4 separate regions of the Homo sapiens genome follow, and all the other regions are linked to region 1. The links are contacts of gene promoters, found by promoter capture Hi-C in blood cells and fetal thymus (Javierre and others, 2016). All regions are on one chromosome and are shown on one strand. Each heading gives the region's core, a stretch centred on a gene start or on the middle of the fragment in contact. The rest is flanking DNA. Distances are from core to core; before and after follow the strand shown.

Region 1 (3,503 bases), core at 476-2,975:
GCCAGGTGTGGTGGCTCACACCTGTAATCCCAGGACTTTGGGAGGCCAAGGCAGGCCGATTACTTGAGGTCAGGAGTTTGTGACCAGCCTGGTCAACAGGGTGAAACCCCGTCTCTACTAAAAATACAAAAATTAGCCAAGCATGGTGGTGCACACCTGTAATCCCAGCTACTCGGGAAGCTGAGGGCAGGAGAGTCACTTGAACCCAGGAGGCAGAGTTGCAGTCAGCCAAGATTGCGCCATTGCACTCCAGCCTGGGTGACAGAGCAAGACTGTCTCAAAAAAAAAAAAAAAAAAAAAAAAAAAAAAAAAAGATGTAAAGAGATAATTAGGTGCAAATCCTTTCCCTTAGCCCGGAATTGAGATCAGAAATATTTTCTTTCAGATAAATGATGATTTTACTTTAAACCATATGGTTTCAATTTAAGCAATGTGATGAAAAATAAGTTCAAGTTTAAATTTAAGCAATGTGATGAAAAATAAGTTCAAGTACCACAAGCTTCCTGAGAGTACAACGCATAACAACTCGTAAAATTCTATTATCAAAGTTGCGCCACTTGATCCAAAAGGAATTCACAAAGTTAAATGTGAAAGGTTGACAGAGAATGTCTACAGATGCTTGCTTGATTTTTATTAACAAAGTACACATTTGACATTGAACCTCTGAGTATAACACCTTCCCAGGGCTGTCAAGTTAGAAGTGAAAAAATCATCTGGCAGTCAGTCAGCTTTCTAGATAGCTCCTAACAGGGGAGTCAAGGTCAAACTGGAGTCTCCTTATCCTCCCATATTTGACAAGCAACTTATTGTGAGGCTCAAAATATTCGTACTGCATTCTGACAAACAGAAATAATTGCACCGTGGTTCATAAAGTTCTGTGAGGGCAGGCTGACATAAACAAGAACTGAGTGGTGGTAGGGCCCATGCTTCTGCCACAGCACTTCGGTGACACTCTTGAGAATCAGAACTTTCACCTACTTTCTACCAGCTTTATCATCTATCAAATGAGAAAAACCACCTCATTCCTACGATTACAGGAATCAAATAATATTATGAAGAATTAAAACAGGCCTCAAATCTTGTGCAAAGGTGAGAGACTATTATTATATTATTTACTACGTATGGGCCCAGAAGACCGCCCCCCTCCCCGACATTCCACGTTCCGCAGGGTCCTCAAAAGGTGGTACAGGGTCCTAGTTTCTTCTCCAGACTCCAGGCCTGGCAACCGTAGATGCTGTCATGCCTCTGTTGCTAAGAGATGGGAAGTGAGGCCTCAGGAACTGGGCCTAGAAGACTCAACAACGACCGCGCCCCCTAGTCACCTTGTCCTCACCTTGAGGAATGGAAACACACCCCACGGGAGCAGGCAATGCTGTCCTCAAAAAGAAGAAAGAGGTGCCTCCGCTCTTCACCCGGCCGCCGCTGCTTGGGCCCACGCTTCTTGCGAGGCAGGGACAGGGCCAGGAAAGCTGACTGTGCCGGGGACGCCTTGACCTAGGGCACCAGAGAAGCGGGCACGGGTGCCGGGCCCACAACCGGGACAGGTACACGAGAAGTTGGCCCCAGGTTGGGCCCGCCTCGCCCTGCCTCGCCCACAGCCGCCGGCACAGTAGGAGGCACCCCGCCCCCGTGAACCCAGAGGTCCCTGAGCTCGCTCACCTGCAGCCGAGTCACCAGTAGGCTGTAGGGCGCCATTTTGTGCACTGACAAAGATGAGGTCGCATTAAAGTGACGTCCCACACGGCGCCTTTAAAGCCTTTGGGCAGGGGCGTGCCCGGAAGAGTGGGGCGTCACGGTGAAGGCGAGGCCTCCCTAGAGGCGCCAGAACCCTGTGAACGCAATGGGCGGAGCTCACGTGCAACGAACAGACACGCAAGAGGAAATCGGACTGCCCAAAGACACTTGCAGAAATAGATACCAAGCACAAAGATGTTTTACCCAAGAACAAATTTTAGTTATCTCCGCCATCCAAATCTGGGAGAGTTTTTAAGAGTTTCATGCACCTGCCAGGACCTGGCCGCCCAGCAGCGACAAAAACTCGCGCGAGAGCAAGACGGGCCTGGTGCAAGGATTGTAAACTGACGGAAGCTTAGAGAACCAATCACAGCGACGTGGAGGCAGGAACAATGGGGGTTAAAGGTCGGACGGAAGTTCCCGAAGCTTCCGGTGGCCGGCTTAGTTAGGAGCTATGGCTAAACATCATCCTGATTTGATCTTTTGCCGCAAGCAGGCTGGTGTTGGTGAGACTGCGCCCTACCCCTGGCTGTCTGGGCAGGGGTGGTATTAGGAGCTGGGGGGTCGGGGGTTCCCGTCTCTTCCTTAGGGGCTTGCCTCGCAGGCGCCACGTTTCCCGCCTCTCAGGCGCGGGGTGTTGTAGGAGCGCGCAGGTTTGTGGCCTCTGATGAGAAGAGGGCGGGGGTGCGCGTGCTGGGAGCCCCAGGCAGGTATCGGGGGGTGGGGTCTGAACCAGGTCCAGAGAAACTCTGAGCTTGCCCAGGGCGTTGGAGGAGATTCAGGAGGGTGCTTGGATGTAGGTTTGGTTCATATGGAAATTTGTAATGATAAAATGGCTATCCGCAGGTCTCACTCACTGCAGTCCTTACTCATGTCCCTACCCCCAGCTCGAGGATGTACTTCTCCTCTTTCTCAAAACCTTTATTCTAATTGTACTTTTTACCATCTTTCATCTTGCAGCCATCGGAAGACTGTGTGAAAAATGTGAGTGGAACACACCGTCCCAACAACCCACCCTTCCCACTCCCAGTTTTCTGTGGAACCAGCAAAAGTGCCACAAAGAGGGCTTTGAGTAGATGTGCCTGGAAGTATGTGAACACTGAATGCTGCACTTTAGCCAAAGGCCCCTCTAACTCCCCACTGCCGCTTGCACATTTAACGCTGTATCTCTCTAGTTTTCAACGGGAAGAATCGCCAGAGTAGCATGACCCCTCCCCAACACACAGCACTTTGCCAGCAATTATACAGGCTTATCATCTCCGAGGTGCTTTTCTAAGCTCTTCACATATGTTAATTGGTAAACTTTTGTATGTGTTGAGGGGCTTGAGATGGACACTGGGGAAACCAAGTTTTGTGATGCCAAGAGGAGGGCCCTAAAGTCACTGTCAAAAGGAGACTAGTGTATTTCCCAGGAGACTAGTATATTTCCCCATGGCAGGAGATAGCAGAGGACTGAAGAACTTGTGAGCATGACTCCATTCTCTTCCTTACAGGTGATGGCAAGTGTGTGATTTGTGACTCCTATGTGCGTCCCTGCACTCTGGTGCGCATATGTGATGAGTGTAACTATGGATCTTACCAGGGGCGCTGTGTGATCTGTGGAGGACCTGGGGTCTCTGATGCCTATTATTGTAAGGAGTGCACCATCCAGGAGAAGGACGTAAGTGTACAGCTTTCCATCTGACCTTTCCTCCTTTTGTTTAGTAACACTTTGCCATCCACTGCAATCTCCTATGGTCTATGGAGATTACTGTGTTCATCTAGTCATC
Region 2 (3,503 bases), core at 368-2,867, 620 kb after region 1:
TGGTTCATGCCTGTAAATCCAGCACTTTGGGAGGCCAAGGCTGGCGGATTACGAGGTCAGGAGATCGAGACCGTTCTGGCTAACATGGTGAAACCCTGTCTCTACTAAAACAAAAAATCAGCTGGGTGTGATGGCATGCACCCTGTAGTCCCAGCTACTTGGGAGGCTGAGGCAGGAGAATCGCTTGAACCCAGGAGGTGGAGGTTGCAGTGAGCCAAGATTGTGCCACTGCACTCCAGCCTGGGTGACAGAGCAAGACTCCATCTCAAAAAAAAAAAAAAAGAACCCTTTCTGTTTTCAAAGTTAATATATCCCCTTGTTTTACATAGTTAATGGCTTTTGTTGTTTGTTTTTAAGGCAAATTTTAATAATGTCTACGTTGCTTCCAACTGTTGTGGAGTGCTCTTAAGTCTATCAACCATTTTAGTCACTGGATTGTTGCAGGTAGCCCATATACTATAGGGTCTGCACCAAATGGAGCATGTAACGCTAATTCTTTGTAATTTTTCTCTTCTAGTTATTTGCTTATAATGAATTGTGTTGCCCTGAACTATTTGGGAAAGAAGAGTTTGTAGGGTCAGGAGGAAGTATTAATGGATGAGGTTGGGAGGGGTGTATAAGGAGAAAATCTATAATGTGATGGGCATGCAAATATAAGCAAGAAAAATTCTCATAGGTCTCAGTCACAGGACACAAACATTTTGAATTATATCATGACGGTATAGTTACTTCATAAACTGCATATTTGAATTTAATTGAACTCTTATTTCAAGTTTCAAATTTAGGATTCAGATATACCTACTGAGTTGAATTCTAAGTTAACAGCTTGTGCAAATGATTTTGTCATTGCATGTTGACATATCTGCCTCTTTTCCTCTGGGAAGAGGCACAGAGAAGCTATACATTATGTTTATTTGACTCATTGAGGCAAAGAAAGGGGTTCATTAGCCAGTAGCCTTAAAATAAATTTTAAGCTGGAAAAAATTTAACCATAATAATACCACAGCATTCAGATTAATTGAGAGTTTACTTTTAAATTTTGAAAAGGTAGTCATCTAAATGTCTAACGTTATTTTTTAGGTGTAAATACGTTGCGTGACAGTGAATTTTAATTTTCTAAACAAATATCTTTTTTCTCATCTTCTTCAAGCATGGGTGGTAAAGTACCACCTGCTACTCAGAAAGCTAAATCAGAAGAAAATACCAAGGTAAGTTTTAATTTCATTTGTATGTTTTGTGATAAAGTACTATAAGATTTCTTAGGGGTTGTTTTTAAACTGCTGCTCTCCAGTTATCACTCCTGATTTCCCCAAGATCACTTGGAAATAAGACCTTTTAAGACCTCTTTATCTTTATAACTTTGTAGACCCGAATTCTCTGGATTCTGATTTAGAACTGAGAATTTAGGGTTGGATGTTCACTGTTTTAGAATACATGACAATAAAAGTTACATGTATGGCCTGTAAGTGGTAAGCTCCGTGATGGTGTGCATCCGTAGTCTTCATCATTGCCTTACAGTGTGTCATATGCATTGTAGGTACTTTATTTATTATTTGCAGAGTAAATGAAGTATCCCAGGTCAGTAATTTAATTTTTTTGCTCTACTACCTGAGTGATATTTGTGAGTGTGAATCATGGTGTTGGGTTAGCATATTTGCTTAAAGGACGTGTAAGATTAGGAGAAGGTTACCAGTAGCTGAAGTTGAGAGACAGATGAAGGGGAACATACATGTTTAAGAATGTTTTCTTTTATTTGTTTGTTTTTTCTTTCCTGAGACAAAGTCTCACTGTGTCACCCAGGTCTGAGTGCACTGGTACAATCTCGGCTCACTGCAACCTCAGCCTACTGGCTTCAAGCGATTCTCCTGTTTCAGTCTCCCGAGTATCTGGGATTACAGGTGCATCCCACCATGCCTGGCTAATTTTTCTATTTTTAGTAGAAATGGGGTTTCGCCATGTTGGCCAGGTGGGTCTCGAACTCCTGACCTCAACTGATCTCTCAGCCTCCCAAGGTGCTGGGACTAAGGCGTGAGCCACCATGCCTGGCCCAGAATGCTTTCTTCATAATTTTTTATTTCTCTCTTCTGCCTTCATATCTAAAAGGCTTTTTTTTTTTTTGCAAATTTTCTGATTAGCTGTCTTAAATCGACAAGAAAATAGCTGTTTTATTATTTAGAAACTTAAACATTGTTATCTATTTGGATCTTAAAGTGGAAGTTATGTCTATTAAGAAGGAGAATGCGAAAAGGTAAGCAAAAGCCCAAAAAGTAGTTACCTTTTTTTTAAAAGGACCATTTATCAGAGTGGTATTTTCTGAGCCCTAGATATTTTGCTATTTGGCAAATGTGTATGAAGGCAAAATTATATTTAACCTATGTGTCAGCTGAAAATTTTTTGTAAGAAAAACATTCTAAACTAGAATTATGGCTTGTCTTTTCTTTTCAATATATTCTAGAATACCTAGACTTTGCACATTTTATAGGGACTCAACAAATATTTTGTGACAAGGTAGGTTTTTGGTTCTAATTTTTTTTTTTTTTTTTTTTTTTTTGAGACAGAGTCTCACTCTGTTGCCCAGGCTGGAGTGCAGTGGTGCGATCTCTTGGCTCATTGCAAGCTCTGCCTCCCAGGTTCACGCCCTTCTCCTGCCTCAGCTTCCTGAGTAGCTGGGACTACAGGTGCCCACCACCACGTCCGGCTAATTTTTTTGTGTTTTTAGTGGAGAAGGGGTTTCACCATGTTAGCCAGGATGGTCTCAATCTCCTGACCTCGTGATCCACCCACCTCGGACTCCCAAAGTGCTGGAATTACAGGCATGAGCCACTGCGCCCTGCCTTGGTTCTAATTTTTTAAGTAACAGGGAAGCAACCTAAAAATGGTTAACAATATATGGTTGAGTGAATAGATGAAGGTAGGCTGATAATGGTATATAATTTACAAGATACACAGCGTTGTTAAATGCAAAAGGCAAAGGATAGAGTTGTTTCATATATAGAGAGACTATCCTGCAATGGGATATACAAGAAACCACACTGGTTATTTATAGGATGGGAAGAAAGTGTTGCTTTCTATATGTCGTGCACTTTTAAATTCTTTGAATTTTCATTGTTTATTATTGTAATTCCACAGGTTCTTATTTGCAGTTCCAAAACTCAAAAACCCTTGTAAAGATTTTTACTAAATTTGGCAATAAAATATAATGTGAGTGGACATGAGGCTATTTATAATCTCTAAACTGTTTATTGTCAATGTTCAAACTTTATTTTGAACAGTTGTTTTTTTATTTTTGAGACACAGTCTTGCTCTGTCGCCCAGGCTGGAGTGCAGTGGCATGATCTCAGCTCACTGCCACCTCCGCCTCCCAGGTTCAAGTGATTGTCCTGCCTCAGCCTCCCAAGTGGCTGGGATTACAAGCGGGCACCACCACGTCCGGCTAATTTGTATTTTTAGTAGAGATGGTTTCACCGTGTTGGCCAGGCTAGTCTTGAACTCCTAACCTCAAA
Region 3 (3,503 bases), core at 400-2,899, 600 kb after region 1:
ACTGCGTAAGAGACTTTTTTTGAGAGAGAGAGACACGGTCTCATTCTGTCACCCAAGATGGAGTGCAGAGGCATGATCACAGCTCACTGCATCCTTGACCTCCTGGGCTCATGCAATCCTCCCACCTGAGTCCCCCGAGTAGCTGAGACTATAGGCAGGAGCACTAATTTTTTTTATTTCTTATAGAGACAGGGTCTTGCTATGTTGCCTATGCTCGTCTCGAACTCCTAACCTCAAGTGATCCTCTCATCTTGTCTTTCCAAAGTGTTGGGATTATAGGCGTGAGCCACTGTACCTGGCCTAAGAGACTTTTTAAGTATTACATGCCTTTAAATTTTTTTTCCTTTTTTTTTGAGACAGAGTCTCCCTCTGTCCCCCAAGCTGGAGTGCAGTGGCACAATTCTGGCTCACTGCAACCTCCGCCTCCCAGATTCAGGTGATTCTCCTGCCTCAGCCTCCCCAGTAGCTGAGATTATAGGCATATGCCACCACACCCGGCTAATTTTTTTTTTGGGGGGTATTTTTAGTAGAGACAGGATTTCACCATATTGGTTAGGCTGGTCTCAAACTCCTGGCCTCAGGTGATCCACCCACCTTGGCCTCCCAAAGTTCTGGGATTACATGTATGAGCCACTGCGCCCGGCCCCTTTTAATTTTTCTTAAAAATTTACTCTGCTTCACCCTACAATCACTTTAACACTTCCACAAGTTTTGCATCTCTGGAAGGAGAAACACAAATGATTAATTCTTTTGATACTTTTGTCTGCAGAAAAATCTGTACCTAATGGTACATCTGATAGTTTGAGGTTTAAAATACTAATAATTCTGTTTTAAAATTCCATCTACTTCCATCCCTTCTCACTTACCCCAATGTCCAAAATCCCACGTCTAGGAGAGTAAAATTAGGACAGGCATCCCTTTTCCCCCAGATATTCACATACATATGTATGTGAACATATACGTGTACATATTTATTTACATTCACTTATACTTAACATGCACTTAAGGTATAGAGCAAAAAAATCTAGATACAGAGGCCATTATCTTGACAATATAATTACTAGGTTTAAGGCCTGGAAAATGCAGCTTACCATGTAAAAATATCTCACCACAAGAAATCAGTAATTTTCAAAGCTGGTAAAACTATCAATTCTACTTAAAAAAATAACTCGAGTCTACAGGTAGGTTGATAGGGTAGATAAATACTAAAATTAATACCAACTGGGTTGCTATTAAGCTTACCTTACAGCTTTGAAAAACTCTGATTTCTTGTGGGTTTCAGTGGTGAGCTGCATTTCCTTAGTTTCAGCCGACTTCCCAGCAGGAATTCGAGTCTGATGAAAAATCAGCAAAAGGAAGCCCTCACTGAGAAACATACTGGTATCATTCACTGAGTGGGGATAGTGAAAAAGGAACATATTTCTAAAGGTAAATTTCCATTAGTAATATATATGCTTATATGGCAAATACATATTTAATTTCTTATGGCAGAAAGAACAATTAATTTTCCTTGAAAACCTGATTGCTTTTTCTACAATGTGTTTGCTTTTACCCTACCTTCCTCTCTGAGATATTCATTAGTCATAGTTCACCCCTTAAGTGCAAGAAATCAAAACAAAAAACCTTTAGGTCTAAATTTGAGCAATAGTTATAAGACATCTTCTGGCAGCAACGCTGGGATCTTATAGCAGAAAAAAAAATTAGTAAAACAAACCTTTATCATTTTTTTGCATCACCTTTATCAACTGGGATACTACCTCTCAAATCTGTGACAAACAAATCTGGAAATCTTGCTTAATCTATATAGAAATAGGTTATAATTTTAAAGTAAATATTTGATAATTTCAAGAAAAAACATGTTTTCTAAAATGTCTTTAACACAGTAATTCACAATAGTATACAATTCTAAAAGCTGACTTAGAAATAGAACTTTGCTTTAAAAACATCCTGAAATACATACCTTTCATTAATTATTCTGAATTATAAGGTCTATCATATTTAAACCTTGTTCTAGACTAGTATTGTCAATAAAGCACCAGTACCCACATGTAGTTAAGCTTAAATTTAAATTAATTAAAATTAAATAAAATAAAAAGTTCAGCTCCTCAGCTGTACTAGCAACCTTATTAGTGTAAAATGGCCATGTGAGGTTAGTGGCTACCTTATGGAACAGCACAGATCCAGAGCTTACTGCAAGAAGTTCTATTGCATAGCATTGCTCTAGACAGAACCTAAATGGGGAGATAGCACAGTTAAAAGGCCTTACCTGGTCTGAGGAGGTGTGGGTGTGTAAAGGGGCTGGGCTGGCCTAAGTATCGGTTTGGAATCCTCCTTTCTGGGACAGGCTGAAGGGAGTACCTTCGCTGTGAACACAACATACATCCTGAATGAAGAATAAAGAGAATGAAATGAAACAATAGATCTAGAAAGTCTTCATGGTATAAATACACTTATCTCTAGCAGTTTAGATGCTTTAGAAAAATGCAAACTAATATTTCCTTCCTTCTCTCCTTCAATATTCATTTATTTTTTTTTTAAGACAGAGTCTCACTCTGTCACCCAGGCTGGAGTCAGTGGCATGATCTCGGCTCACTGCAACCTCCACCTCCTGGGTTCAAGTGATTCTCCTGCCTCAAGCCTCCTACATAGCTGGGATTACAGGTGCGTGCCACCATGTCTGGCTAATTTTTGTAGAGACGGGGTTTAATCCTGTTGGCCAGGCTGGTCTCGAACTCTTGACCTCAAGTGATCCGCCCACCTCGGCCTCCCAAAGTGTTGGGATTACAGGCATGAGCCACTGCACCTGGCCCTCCTTCAATATTTATATGGCCTTTGCTCTGTGTCAGACTCTGTGTTGGGCCTTAGGAAAACAGAAATGAGATCTTTACCCTCAGAGACATTTGTCTGCTATAATATTTTATACACATACACACACACACACACACACACACACGCACACATATATAATAAAGGTATGAATAAGGAGCTATGAAAACAGAAGAAAGGAACCAAAAAAGGCAGGGGAAGGATATCACAGAGGCAGTTTGAAAGGGTATCACAGAGATAGCATAAAGCTGTGTCCTAAAACTCAGGAAAAGATAATCAACATTTTTTATTGAGAATATGTTAAGCATGAGAAAATATGCACATGCTATCTCATTTAATCTTGGAATGTCAGAGCTAGATAAAATAATTTATGAAAAATGCTTAATCATAGAGTACAACAAATGTTAGTTATTAGCATTAATTAAAAAATTCTTTGCACATGATTGGAACATGCTCAAAGAAAGACACATGAATGACAAGGCTATATGCTGTGGTCTTTAAAGAATGCACAGTCTAGTGGAGGTGAGACAAAATAGAGCATTACAATATTAAATGGTGAATGCAACAGTGGATTCACACATAAGGAGTTTTGTTTGTTGGGTTTTTTTTTTTTTTTTTTGAGACAGGTCTCACTCTGTCGCCCAGGCTGGAGTGTAGTGGCATGATCATAGCTCACT
Region 4 (3,503 bases), core at 645-3,144, 510 kb after region 1:
GGTTTCGCCATGTTGCCCAGGCTGGTCTTGAACTCCTAGGCTCAAGCGATCTGCCCGCCTCAGCCACCCAAAGTCTTGGGTTTACAGGTGTGACCCACCTCACCTGGCCAAGAGTGTCTTTTTTTTTGAGACAGAGTTTTGCTCTTTTTGTCCAGGATGGAGTGCAATGGCAGGATCTCGGCTCACTGCAACCTCTGCCTCCCAGGTTCAAGTGATTCTCCTGCCTCAGCCTCCCATGTAGCTGGGATTACAGGTGCGTGCTACCACGCCTGGCTAATTTTGTATTTTTAGTAGAGATGGGGTTTCACTGTGTTGGCCAGGATGGTCTGGATCTCCTGACCTCATGATCCCCCCGCCTCAGCCTCCCAAAGTGCTGGGATTACAGGCATGAGCCACCGCGCCCCGCCTAAGAGTATGTTTCTTTTTTTTGTTGTTGTTGAGATGGAGTCTCACTCTGTCACCCAGGCTGGAGTGCAATGGCGCGATCTCAGCTCACTGCAACCTCCGCCTCCTGGGTTCACGCCATTCTCCTGCCTCAGCCTCTCAAGTAGCTGGGACTACAGGCGCCCGCCATCGCACCCAGCTAATTTTTTGTATTTTTAGTGGAGACGGGGTTTCACCTTGTTAGCCAGGATGGTCTCGATCTCTGGACCTTGTGATCTGCCCGCCTTGGCCTCCCAAAGTGCTGGGATTACAGGTGTAAGCCACCACGCCTGGCCTAAGAGTGTGTTTCTTAAAGGTAAAGACTTGAGGTCGGACATGGTGGCTCACACCTATAATCCCGGCACTTTGGGAGGCCAAGGGGGGTGGTTTTTTTGAGGCCAGGAGTTTGAATGGGTCATGTCTGTAATCCCAGCGGTTTGAGAGGCCAAGGCGAATGGATCACCTGAGGTCAGGAGTTTGAGACCAGCCTGGCCAACATGGTGAAACCCTGTCTCTCATAAAAATACAAAAAATGAGCCGGGTGAGGTGGCCCACACCTGTAGTCCCAGCTACTTGGGAGGCTGACGCAGGAGAATCACTTGAACTCCAGCCTGAGCGACAGAGACTCTGTCTTTAAAAAAAAAAAAAAAAAAAAGGTAAAGACCTGCCCGATCTCACTCATTGTTTTATCCTGGTGCCTACCAGGATGCTCAGGATATATTCATTGGATAAATAAAAGATAGGACTTAGAAAATACTTTCATAAGTTTTTGTTATAGGATTTCAATATCCTACTTCATCTGACATTCAAAATATATTATGAAACAAAACAGGTATCCCACTGAAAGCCTAATATGATGTCTCAAGCATTTCACTCTAAGAGAAGACAATATAGATCGCCTTTGTCTTCTGTGGTCCTTTTAAGAAGTACATTCTCTCATATCCAGAGACACATATACACTGACTTAAATATAGAGAAAAAAAAATCAGGGTTATATAAAATCATTAAAAATCATTAACTATTTTCAAAACAGAGCCCCAAGAAAGTAAAATTTTCTCTGGGTATAACTCCTTGTGAAAATGCAAGGCCGAGAAACTGGCAAGCATGTAATCAAAGACCCCACCCAAACACATTTGAAACCCTGCATATGTTTTTCTGTGATGGGTTCACGGCATCTATATTAAACATTATGGTAGGTGCTGATCTTCCTTGGCTGTAGTGTGAAGAGATAAACAGTGTCAAAGCTCAAAGAAGCCAAGGGCAATACATGACCAGTATAAGCCATGACTGCTTTCCAACAGAAAATATTTGATTCGTGCTTTTCAAGTTGAAAACATCTGAGCAAGTTTAAGATAAGATCTAAAGCTCAACTATGGGTTAGTCTTACATTGCACAATAAAGTAGTTATTAACCACATGTGACTACTGAGCACTTGAAATGTGGCTAGTCTGAATCCAGATGTGCTGTAAGTGTAAAATACACAGAATTTCAAAGATAGTACAAAGACAGAATGTAAAATATCTCATTTTTTTTTTACATCAATTACATGTTGAAGTAAAACTATTTTGACTATATAAGGTTAAATAAAATACATTAATTTCACCTTTTTATTTTCTTTTTACTTTATGAATGTGGATACTAGAAAATTTCAGGCCAGCCACAGTGGCTCACGCCTATAATCGCAACATTTTGGAAGGCCAAAGTGGGAGGATCACTTGAAGCCAGTTCGAGACCAGCCTGGGCAACAAAGCGAGATCCCGTCTCTGAAAAAAACAAAAAAAAAAAAAAAGGAAAAAGAAAATTTAAAATTATATACGTGTTTGTACTGGCTTACATTCAGATTGGACAGTGCTGGGTTAGACAAAACCAAGGAAGAGAAGAGGTGAAGAATATTCTAGGCAAAAAAGACTAGGCTATTTAAGGGCTCTAAAATAGAGCATGGACACTTAAGAATGGAAAAGCAGGCCGGGCATGGTGGCTTATGCTTGTAATCCCAACACTTTGGGAGGCAGAGGCACGCGGATCACCCGAGGTCAGGAGTTCGAGGCCAGCCTGGCCAACACGGTAAAACTGTGTCTCTACTAAAAATACAAAAATTAGCTGGGTGTGGTGGCAGGTGCCTGTAATCCCAGCTATTGAGGAGGCTGAGGCAGGAGAATCACTTGAACTCGGGAGGCGGAGGTTGCAGTGAGCTGAGATCACGCCACTGCACTCCAACCTGGGCGACTCCATCTCAGAATAAGGAAAAAAAATGGAAAACTGGCCGGGGCCATGGCTGCTTTGGCCACCGTGGTCAGTTAAAAAAAAAAAAAAGCATCCAGGTAAACTAACAGAGTGAGCAGGAGTGACTCAAGACAAAGTTGTAAAGGCAGGTGAGTGATCTGAAAAATAAGTTCCTATAATTCCATTTCTAGAAACTTAAAGTTTCTTTCCTCCATTTCTGGCCTCAGTAACAAATCATTTTAGTTCCCGGATGAAAAAGTAACCTCAACTGTTCCTGGTGTGATCAACATTCTTGTCCCTTCTACTGTAAGGACAGGAAATCAGTTCATCAAAGACTATAATCAGATCACTATGTGCTGACCACTACATGTAATAAAATATGTGGAGATTTAAATGAAATTTCTTTAGTGCAATTAATTATTTATTTAGATGTTGGCAATGATTTCCTTTTTATTATGTTTGGGCCTAACATACAAAATCCTCACTCCTTAACGCTTCTTTCCTTTGTAAACAATGACCAGCAAAAATTAGATCAGATAGACTTTTTTTTTTTTTTGAGACTTTGAGTCTTGCTGTGTCGCCCAGGTTGTAGTGCAGTGGTGTGATCTCGGCTCACTGCCACCTCTGCCTCCCAGGTTCAAGCAATTCTCCTGCCTCAGCCTGCCAAGTAGCTGGGATTACAGACATGCACCAGTACGCCCAGCTAATTTTTGTATTTTTAGTAGAGACAGGGTTTCACCATGTTGGCCAGGTTGGTCAACTCCTGGCCTCAAATGATCTGCCCGCCTTGGCCTCCCAAAGTGCTGGGATTACAAGCATGAGCCACTGCGCTTGGCCTCAGAATATTTTAGCTCAAA

What was found. The method cuts DNA at HindIII sites, captures the fragments that hold promoters and counts their contacts. A CHiCAGO score of 5 or more calls a contact.
Region 2: a contact is called between a fragment that was not itself captured here and the fragment with the promoter of ACO2 in region 1, in 2 of 17 cell types (naive CD4 T cells and naive CD8 T cells). The highest score is 5.2, in naive CD4 T cells.
Region 3: a fragment that was not itself captured here is called in contact with the fragment with the promoter of ACO2 in region 1 in 3 of 17 cell types (total CD8 T cells, non-activated CD4 T cells and total CD4 T cells); the score reaches 8.8 in total CD8 T cells.
Region 4: a fragment that was not itself captured here is called in contact with the fragment with the promoter of ACO2 in region 1 in 1 of 17 cell types (fetal thymus); the score reaches 5.4 in fetal thymus.

What each region holds. Positions count from the first base shown.
Region 1 is chr22:41,467,339-41,470,841 of GRCh38, reverse strand. It overlaps ACO2 (aconitase 2), which reads right to left and starts at 1,725. Exons shown (of 18, transcript NM_001098.3): 1 at 1,660-1,725. The coding sequence starts at 1,695. PHF5A (PHD finger protein 5A) reads left to right here and starts at 2,150. Exons shown (of 4, transcript NM_032758.4): 1 at 2,150-2,240; 2 at 2,695-2,718; 3 at 3,228-3,394. The coding sequence starts at 2,189. RefSeq lists enhancers at 1,058-1,619, 1,620-2,181, 1,751-2,420. The HindIII fragment of the contact is 1,589 bases long and covers 502-2,090 here.
Region 2 is chr22:40,848,528-40,852,030 of GRCh38, reverse strand. ST13 (ST13 Hsp70 interacting protein) reads left to right here. Exons shown (of 12, transcript NM_003932.5): 2 at 1,151-1,208. Among named protein-coding and RNA genes, the nearest start is that of ST13, 6.4 kb to the left of the region's middle. The HindIII fragment of the contact is 7,823 bases long and covers 1-3,503 here.
Region 3 is chr22:40,867,879-40,871,381 of GRCh38, reverse strand. XPNPEP3 (X-prolyl aminopeptidase 3) reads right to left here. Exons shown (of 10, transcript NM_022098.4): 2 at 2,267-2,383. Among named protein-coding and RNA genes, the nearest start is that of DNAJB7, 7.5 kb to the right of the region's middle. The HindIII fragment of the contact is 820 bases long and covers 1,240-2,059 here.
Region 4 is chr22:40,953,970-40,957,472 of GRCh38, reverse strand. The region is part of intron 2 of RBX1 (ring-box 1); the gene reads right to left. Among named protein-coding and RNA genes, the nearest start is that of RBX1, 4.3 kb to the right of the region's middle. The HindIII fragment of the contact is 7,256 bases long and covers 1-3,503 here.